3 separate regions of the Homo sapiens genome follow, and regions 1 and 2 are each linked to region 3. The links are contacts of gene promoters, found by promoter capture Hi-C in human tissues and cell types (Jung and others, 2019). All regions are on one chromosome and are shown on one strand. The core of a region is centred on a gene start or on the middle of the fragment in contact, and the rest is flanking DNA. Distances in the headings are between cores, read along the strand shown.

Region 1 (3,034 bases), core at 58-2,557, 64 kb after region 3:
GCCTTGTGATACGGTTTGGCTCCGTGTCCCCACACAAATCTCACCTTGTAATAATCTCCACGTGTCAAGTGCAGGACAGGTGGAGATAATTGAATCATGGGGGTGGTTTCCCTCATGCCGTTCTTGTGATAGTGAGTCTCACGAGATCTGATGGTTTTATAAGGGGCTTCCCCTTTGCTCAGCACTCATTCTCTCTCCCGCTGCCTTGTGAAGAGGTGCCTTCCACCATGATTGTAAGTTTCCTGAGGCCTCCCCAGCCATGGGGAACTGTGAGTCAATTAAACTTCTTTCTTTATAAACTACCCAGTCTTGGGTATTTCTTCATAGCAGTGAGAGAACGAACTAATACACTGTGAAAGTGTAAGAATTTTCCTTCATAGCACTTATCATCATTTATAATTACTTGATCAGTCTGTTCCATTTTCGAGAGTGTGTACTCATCCTCCATATTGCCTCCTACAGAGCAGGTGCATATTTATTGATGGAATATACTCAACACAGTTTTGGTAAATGAATCCTAAACTCTGATATCAGATCCTATTCTTTTTTCTTACGATTGATGCTGTTTTCTAATTTATTCCATTCCTGTTTTATTCATCTATCCATTTAATAAACAGTTGAAGAATGACTTCATTCCAGACATTTCCTTGGGTACAAAATTTATTCTAAACCACGACTGCACATTCCACCGGAGAGGCTTGAGTGACACTGTGAAGCCATTTTTTTAATGCCCTCAATTCATGTTCATTTATTCCTTCCTTCATTCAGGAACTTAATTACTGCCTACACTTTCTTCTCAGTGGTATTTGGGGCCCTTGCATTTCATTTTATTTAATTTTGTCTCCTTATTCTTTCTAAACTTGGAAAATATTTTGACTTTAGAAATCATTATTGAAATATATATATATGCCTCATATATATATATATATATATATATAATACCTCACCTATTTAAATTCTAATAGGAATTAAAAGCCTTAAACCCAAAAAAAATCATTTAATTGCAGAATTTTTAGGTTCAGCCAGCTGAGCGATAGGAGATCATCGAGGGGAAAGAAGGAAGCACCCTCTCTAGGTGCTTCAAGTACGAATATGCCACAAAAATCTCTTTGTATTGTTTATTTTATGCTCACGGCAGCACAAGTGGCTGGGGCATTGCAGGGAGATTTCATCTTTGGGGATGTACAGAGAAATTGGACCATCTGACCCCTCAGTCACCCCTGACAACAGATTCCAGGAATACAGGCTGGCATGGGCTACAAGTGTTGGAAGGGAATGAAAGTGTTCTCTAAGTCCAGAGTTCTGTCATAACATTTTGCTACAAAATCTAGTGTTCCTGGAAATTCCATCAGAATGGTCTCACTATGGCCTCCTTTTTATGATTTAACAAAAACCCAATTTAAAGATTATGTAAAGCAAGTGTGGTAAAATATAATGCACTGCCTGGAAGATGAATAGGATGAATTCTTATAATAAGCAAAGAGATATGTTCCCTTCAATCTTCCCAAAGCACTGGCCCTTTTAAATTGAACTTGAAAATCTAAAGAATTGTACCTTGTAATTATAAGCAACAATAATGTGTATGTATGTGTGCGAGTGTGTGTGTGTGCGCGTATGTATGACAATGCAAAAATTGAGTTGCAAAATTCTTAATAAACACAAGAAAAACTTTTGAGTTTATGGAACAATAATGTTCTGTTTGGCGTGCAATTTCCACAAGATGGCAGTATTTGCTCATAGAGAGCAAAGAGTTACTGTGGTTATTGTTAATCTATGGGATTGAAGTGCTGAAGTATAGACTTTGTGGGGCTGTAAATACTTAAACTATTAGAAATAAGTTTAGCTATTAGACTGTGATGAACTAACGGCTAAAATCTCTTTTTGGAGTATAGTCAGAAAAATTCCTGCTATTTTTACACCATGGTGATGCATAACAACACTTACTTTTGAGGGTCATTGTGGTGTGAATTAATAAGACCACACGTGACGATCTCAGTGAGCAAGATGCATGAAAAGCTCATTACCTGGCACGCGGAAGGCTATTGCAACTCTAAAGCTAGACTTATTATTGTCACATGTATCACTATTGTTCTTTCTTTGGACCTGTTCCGGTACATACTTCTTAATGGAGAATTACATGCCCATATGATCAATGAATGATTGATTCACTGACACGGACATCTCATTTCCTTTTTTTCATCCAAAATATTAAAACATTTGTGATCCCATTGAACAGAAAAATTTTAGAAGTCCATAAAACTTAATTGCAATTTGAAAATTGCACTGATTTCTTTATTGGTATAAATGAGGAAATTTCAGGGGAAGGGAGTAGAGGAATCAAAAGATCCTTCTTTCATATTAAAATTAAAGAAATCCAACAGGTTTAGGCATTCATCTTGAAGAGCCTTTTTAGCCTCATTTGTGTTTGAGACTCACACTAATTTTTGATCCCTTACCATTTTTAGTCACTACTCTAGGAAATGATTTTCAAATTAATTTATTTGTTACAAAACAGGTTGCTGAAAGTTGGACGCAAATTTCTAATCCCACATAGGTCACTCTGATTTTGTCCTTAAATACCATCGCTGTCAATAAGTTCCTCTCAAACTTTTCTGGAATCATGGCCCATAGGTGAATTCCTACTGAACCAAACTAAAAAAGTTACTGGTTACTGGTTACCTAAGAAAAATGACACCTGCCTTTTTAGTCATTTCTACTAGGAAATTAGAATGGGAAAGGTTGCAGACATTATTGCTTCCCCGTCTGTTTCTCCTCCCCCATTTTATGGATGAAGACGCTAAGTAATCCGGCATAATGATTCCCTAGATTTTTCACATGGAACACACAATCTCACTGCTGTAGAGTTTAAATGACTTTTTAAGTTGCTCACACAGATAATAAATAGTTGAATTGGGCTTAGAACTCAGGTCTGCCTTCCAGCACATTTCTCTCCATTATCTCACACAGCTTCTAATATGTAAGTATGCAGAGAAAAGCTATCTTCTTTAGTTTCAGAGATTTCTTAAACCCTGAG
Region 2 (3,201 bases), core at 251-2,750, 50 kb before region 3:
AAAGAAGATAATTTGCTAAGATTGGAATTTGCTCCCTATTCTTAGTTGAATGCCCACTTACATGAGGTGGAGAGGTGACTGGAGGTGTGATGCTGAGAAACTATCATGTGCTTCCTGAAAGTACACGTTGGGGACACCCTATTCTTCCCCTTTCTTTGCAGCAGCTCCTTTTCGACTGTTTTCTTCCCCTGCTTCTGGTAACAGGACTCCTCTTTATTATGGAAGAGCTAATCTATGAAACTTAGGTGGAGCAGACTTCTCCCCACAAAGGTGGACACATGACCTAGTCTATGTAATCAGAGTAGTGCATTTCCTTGGCCACAGAGATTGGTTCAACAGTCAAGTCACCCACGCAGAGCCACTCAGAAGCTCCCCAGGGCCCTGCTGGGGAAATAATGAAAAAGAGGGACTTTCTTTTCTCTGGGGTTGCACCTTATGACGAATATAAATCTAGAGCTGCCTGTGGTCATTTAGAGAATGGAAGATATTTTGGAATGGTAAAAGAATACGGTTGGAAAGGGAGAGAGATGGAAAATGAGGCTAGAGAAATGGGCAGGGATCTGATTGATTGTAAAGTATTTATGTGAGAGGCAAAGGCACTGAATGTCCTCCTGCAGGCAAGAGCATATCAACAATGGTTTAAGCTTGTTTGATGGCATGGTGTCTGAAACTGAGGTCTGTCCACCGTTTTTTGTTGTTGTTGTTGTTGCTGTTGTTGTTTTTGAGACAGTTTTGCTCCATCGCCCAGGCTGGAGTGCAGTGGTGCAATCTTGGCTCACTGCAACCTCTGCCTCCCAGGTTCAAGTGATTCTCATGCCTCAGCCTTCTGAGTAGCTGGGAGTACAGGCACCTTCCACCACACCTGGCTAATTTTTGTATTTTAGTAGAGATGAGTTTTCACCATGTTGGCCAGGCTGGTCTCAAACTCCTAGCCTCAGGCGATCTGCCCGCCTTGGCCTCTCAAAGTGCTGGGATTACAGGGATGAGCCATCGTGCCCAGACCTCCTTTTGTTTTTCTAGAAAATAACTGTGTCCTTAGTGTGGAGACGGGAGCATGAAATAATTCAAGAAACAGACCAAGTCTGTAGCTATAGCAATTTTTTCTGCAACTAGTGAATAAATAACAGTACAGGCTGCGACATTGACAATGGGGCTAGGCAAAGACTCTATATTTGTGATAAAATTAATAGGGTTTTAGTGATCTAATGAATATTAAGTTTGAGGGAGAGAAAAGAATCAAGGATCTCTCACAATTTTCCAGTTTAGAACATTGTAAAGATGCAACTCACTAATCTTGTACAGGGATAAAAGTAAACAAGGCATTGAGGGGAGCTGAGGACAAAAAATGACTTTGGATGAGTTAAGTTAGGGAAGTCTGTAATATCCACATGAAGAAATCTTGAGAGTATTATGAAATATAAGCCTGAAGCCCAGGAGAAAGGTTAGTGTGGAGTTATGGAAGTGAGAGTGATCAGCATATGAATTGTAAAGTCACTGATATAAATGGGATTACCCACGTAGAATGAATTATGTGAGAAGACTGACAGAGGAATGAGGAAAAGTTGCCACAGAGAATGAAGAAAATCAAGGAAAAGGTGTTGGTGAAATGAAAACCTACAAAGAAAGAGTTGCAACAGCAGTCAGGAGGTCAGTGTTTCAGGATTAAACAGTGTCCATTAGCTCTGTCACTTAGGAGGTTAACTTGTCCTTACAGTGAACTTTCAGTGCAGTGATAGGGTGAAAGTCAAATTACACTGAGTTGAGAAGTGAGTTAGAGGTGGAAGAAAGTTAAAGAGTAGAGACCATTTAAAAGAAATTTAGATCTGGACAAAAATTGAAAACCAGGGTAGTATATATAGGAGAACAAGAATGTGGAAAGCTTTTTTGTCTGTTTGTTCAGTTTTTTAGATTTGTAATTTGAGGGAAGAGGGGATAATGGACGATCCCTGAAAAATTGAGATGTGATTGTGAAAACAAGTAGATTCTTAAATTAACTTATTTTTATTTTCCTAACAAAATTCAATTTTCTTCTCTTAAAGCTTCTTTTTGTTTGTTTGTTTGTTTGTTTTGTTTTGAGACAGGGTCTTGCTCTATCGCCCAGTCTGGAGTGCAGTGGCGCGATCTCGGCTCACTGCAAGCTCCGCCTCCTGGGTTCACACCATTCTCCTGCCTCAGCCTCCCGATTAGCTGGGACTACAGGCGCCCGCCACCATGCCTGGCTAATTTTTTTTTGTATTTTTAGTAGAGATGGGGTTTCACGGTGTTAGCCAGGAAGGTCTCGATCTGCTGACCTCGTGATCCGCCCATCTCGGCCTCCCAAAGTGCTGGGATTACAGGCGTGAGCCACCGTGCCCCGCCAAAGCTTCTTTTAATGTAACCAAGTCATTATCTAATTATAACTTTTAAAACATAATTTTTAGAAGATCTGTACATGAAAATATAATTTTGGAATGGCACTTTTCTAATGTTTACACTTTTCTAATGTTAGATGAAAAGAATTATGTGCATTCCTAAACACCCCATACATACAATGTAATATTAGAGAAAGCATAAGCAACTATTGTAGCATATCATTTTAAACTCTAAATTGTAGGTTGTTTACAACTCGAATGATACTCCATTTTCAGTTTGATTTATGTTTTGCCTACATTTTACATGTCTTTTAGAACCAGATCTTCTGCCTAGGAGTATTTGTAGCCTCCATCTTTAATCTTAAGATTTGGGTTTTAATGAACACCTACTACATTCTGGTCATTTTTGTCTGCATAATTAAAACCTACAAAGGATCAAAGTGCTTCGCTCCTGAAATCTATAGTAGACATTTAGTTCTATTAAGAGGTAGTATTTTTTATTGGGCTTCATTGCCCAGTTGAGGTCACAAGCAAAACCTGTTTTTGTTACTAGTTTTTGGTTTAAAAAGTTTTCTTTTAGCTTAATTTTTATAAATATGTATTTAATGATATGCATGCTTCCTTTTTCAGGTATACTATATGTGATGAATGAATAGTAGATGAAGTAACCTTTACATAATGTAAAGAGACATTATTTTTGACATTTCCTTTCAATTGAAATGGAATTTATCTTTGTAGCTACTTACATACTGAGTTACACTACACTGACATATAATGACAGTCCAGTAAATTATATTGTTTAAAGTTGATATAAATTTAAGAAAAAATAGAAATTAATATGAAATTAACT
Region 3 (3,199 bases), core at 544-3,043:
ACAATATATAAACCTTAAAGTTTCTTGTTTTCTAACAATTCCATAGTCAAAAGTTATCCACTTTGGAAGCACTAATTTTGCGTTTCATTGTGCATTTTGGAAAACAACTTCGGAAGACTAAATCTCCCACACTTGAGTGCGCAACACACAAGGATGGATGCCCAGGGCGTAAAATAAATTAAACCCAAACCAGTGACAGAGAAGATGCGACGTTTTAGCAGCGTATTGGCAGCAGGGAACTAGAATAATGATGCCATATACGGGTACCTACAATTATACCGTATCTATCTAAAGGGGGAGCAGAAGGTGGGCGGAAAGGACACAATTTTAACAGAAAGTTTTCATCAAACAATATGGACCGTAGGAAGTTTGGAACAGCGGCGGCATTTGCAAACCATCAAATGTAGCTGCCATCTGAAGCCAAGTCGTTGCTAAACAACGACCATCGCAGAGCAAAAATTAAAGGGTGCGGGGATCTTTAACCGCGGGGCTTCCCGCGCACTGGGAAAGGGCAGTTTTGTTTCTGTCTCAGTTTTCAGGCTTCTGTCACCTTCCTAACTTGCCTCATCCGAGTCACTGTAATGGGAATGGGGGGAAAATTCCCCGTCGCTTCTGTGGGACCGAGGCGAAGTTTTGCTGTTTTCCTCCTGCACTGGCTGCAAGATGCTCCCGGGGAGAGAAGGAGACAAATTCTTTTGCGCCATCATCGCTGTCAGGGCGCTGTCCTCGAAAGTCGAGAAGTGCAGAGCGTCCAGCTGCACCGAGTACCCTCCCGCAGAAGCTGGGGCTGAGAAGCGAGTCCGGCAACTCCCGGGCGGGGTCGGCCGCTGGCTCCCTCCGGAAGCCTGCTGAGCCCCAGCTGCGGTCGCGTTGCCCGCGCCCCCTTCATAGGAGGCCGCGGTGCGAAGGTGGTGGTGGTCGCTTTTGCAGGAGGCTGGAGGCGGCGGTGGCTGTTCCCCTCCGCTGGGCGTTTGTAGCAGCTCGGACAAGGCGTTGATGTAGATTTGGGCCATCTGCAGGGTCTCATATTTGGACAGCTTCTTGTCGTTGTTGAACGACGGGATAACATTGCGCAGCTGGTCGAAGGCGTGGTTCAGCCCATGCATCCTGCGCCGCTCCCTGGCGTTGGCTGCTAGCCGTCTCTGCTTCTGCACCCCATTCACCTGTTTGCTGGAAGGGGCCCGTTGGCGGCTGCAGCCCAGCTCGTCTACCACCACCCCGCCTTTCAGCTTGCACAGCTGTTCCCGCACTTTCACCGGCCCGGGGCTCTTGCTGCTGCTGGCACCGCCGCTGCTCCTCCTTACCAGCTCCCCCCGGCCGTCCACCTCGTCCCGGGGCGCAGCGGCCTCTGAGGCACCCAGCTCCGGGGAATGTAGCAAATACTGGGCGGCGCGTGCCGTGCAGATGCCCTGCAAAGTGGGAGCCAGCCAGGCGCGTGGGTCGGTGCTGTCCAGGAGGGACAGCTCAGGCGGGTAGACGGGATGCTCTCTCGCCTGCAAAGTTGCAGGTGGCTGCGGCGGCGGCGGCGGTTGCGGGAGATGATGCGGCTGGGGCTGGCGATGGTGGTCTCCCAACTCCTTCACTTCAGCCCACTCTTCTGCATGCAGCAGGCGGGACATTGCACTGCAAAGGCTCGGAGGCTCAGGATCGGAGGCAGCACTGGGACACCAGCTCAACCAAAAAAAAGGCCCTTTCCGGGTCTCTTCTGCAACGTCTTATTTTTTTTTCCCTCCTCGACCCTCCCCCACCCACTCGGAGATCACACACCAGGTCGCGTGCAACTATGCTTCTCCGGTTGCTGAAGGCGCTGCGCCCCTTTAAAAAGCGGCACGCGCCACTCAGTCTCCCCCCGCTCCTCTCCCAACCCCCTCCTCGCGCCGGTCGCGTGTCTTCTCAGCCAATGGAGGGCGCGGGCAGGCGCGTGCGAGCAGCCAATCAAAGAGTTTTTACACCCCGAGAAAAGTTCTTGTGTGCAGAGGACTCCCAAGCCTGCTCAGGTTTTTTTTTTTTTTTCCTTCTTTTAAATTCGTCAGATTCATATGTTAATTGCAGGGCTGTAATTCGACTCCGGTGTGTGTCACCACCCCGGCGGCTGGGGTGCGGGAGCGGTGCGGAGCCGGCTCTCGGCTGGTGCCCAAGCTGACTCGGGTCAGATGTGCACGACCGCGGGCGGCTCTGGGCGATTCTGGACCCGCCAGGCGCCCAGAAGCCACTCAAAGCAGAGAGAAGGCCGCCTACCCTGTGCTGCCCCCAAGCTAGGATCACAGCTCCCACTTCTGATGCCCAAGCATTTACGATTTCTCATGTATAATAGGATGTTTGTATTTATGTATGCAGGTATTTATAAATCTCTCATGCATGTTCATAGATATATAACTGCTACATGACGTCCATCATTTAAGATTGCTGTTGGAATAAAGGGGGAAAACCCACTCGTCTCAGAGTATGTTTCTTACTTTTGCTCCATCTTTTCATTTTTTACTTCAGATCTCTTAGTTCGACTTCGTCATATGATCTTTTTCTTAATGGAAAATAGAGCTGCGGTGTAGTGATAGCACACCAAATTCCAGATCCCCCAATTCTCTCTGTCCCCTTTCCCCAGCACCCTGCGGCCAATTAGGATTGTAATCTGCCTAAATCTCTCCGTTGAGTGTAATTTAGGGCCAGAATATTTTACGGTATTATGCAGAGTTTCAACACACACAGTAGGACTCCTCATTAAATGCCCAGCCAGGGGAGGGTGCCCAAAGTAAAATGAAAGGCGCCTGCATTCCCTGCAATCCTTAACACTTTCAAGGCACAGAAGTCCCAAGTTACCTACCCTTTTGCCTCGATCGCCCTCTCTTTACTGCGGGCTCGTGGCTTCCTCAGTTTAACCTCCTCCCGCCCCTCCGTTTAGTTAGGGTGGGCTTCCCCTTTCCAGCCCCCACCCCCACCCCACTCCGCCCCATACAATCAGGGAGGTCCTTGGCAAGGGGGGGAGGCCAATTCCCAGGTGAACGCCCCCTCCGGTCCTATTAGCCTCGGCCTAGTCTATTCACAGCAAAGAGCCAATCAGAAGCTCATTGGCCCTGGGCGCGCCCCAGCTTGCGCCCAGCGCGCCCTGGCTCTGGCTCCGGGCGCTCTCCTGCACCGCCCCTGGGGCGCGGGAGTGCGATGCAACCTGTTGATGCTACTGTTGCTTTTACTTTCCCAGTGG

The links. The method cuts DNA at HindIII sites, captures the fragments that hold promoters and counts their contacts. A contact is called where the count stands out against the background at its distance.
Region 1: a contact is called between a fragment that was not itself captured here and the fragment with the promoter of ATOH1 in region 3, in 2 of the 25 tissues and cell types used here (adrenal gland and aorta).
Region 2: a fragment that was not itself captured here is called in contact with the fragment with the promoter of ATOH1 in region 3 in 5 of the 25 tissues and cell types used here (H1 embryonic stem cells, adrenal gland, dorsolateral prefrontal cortex and 2 more).

What each region holds. Positions count from the first base shown.
Region 1 is chr4:93,763,513-93,766,546 of GRCh38, reverse strand. All of the region lies in intron 14 of GRID2 (glutamate ionotropic receptor delta type subunit 2), which reads right to left. Among named protein-coding and RNA genes, the nearest start is that of ATOH1, 64 kb to the left of the region's middle. The HindIII fragment of the contact is 6,409 bases long and covers 1-3,034 here.
Region 2 is chr4:93,877,277-93,880,477 of GRCh38, reverse strand. No RefSeq gene overlaps it. Among named protein-coding and RNA genes, the nearest start is that of ATOH1, 50 kb to the right of the region's middle. The HindIII fragment of the contact is 5,081 bases long and covers 1-3,201 here.
Region 3 is chr4:93,827,347-93,830,545 of GRCh38, reverse strand. It overlaps ATOH1 (atonal bHLH transcription factor 1), which reads right to left and starts at 1,793. Exons shown (of 1, transcript NM_005172.2): 1 at 1-1,793. The coding sequence starts at 1,619. The coding sequence ends at 555. RefSeq lists an enhancer at 2,971-3,199. The HindIII fragment of the contact is 12,246 bases long and covers 1-3,199 here.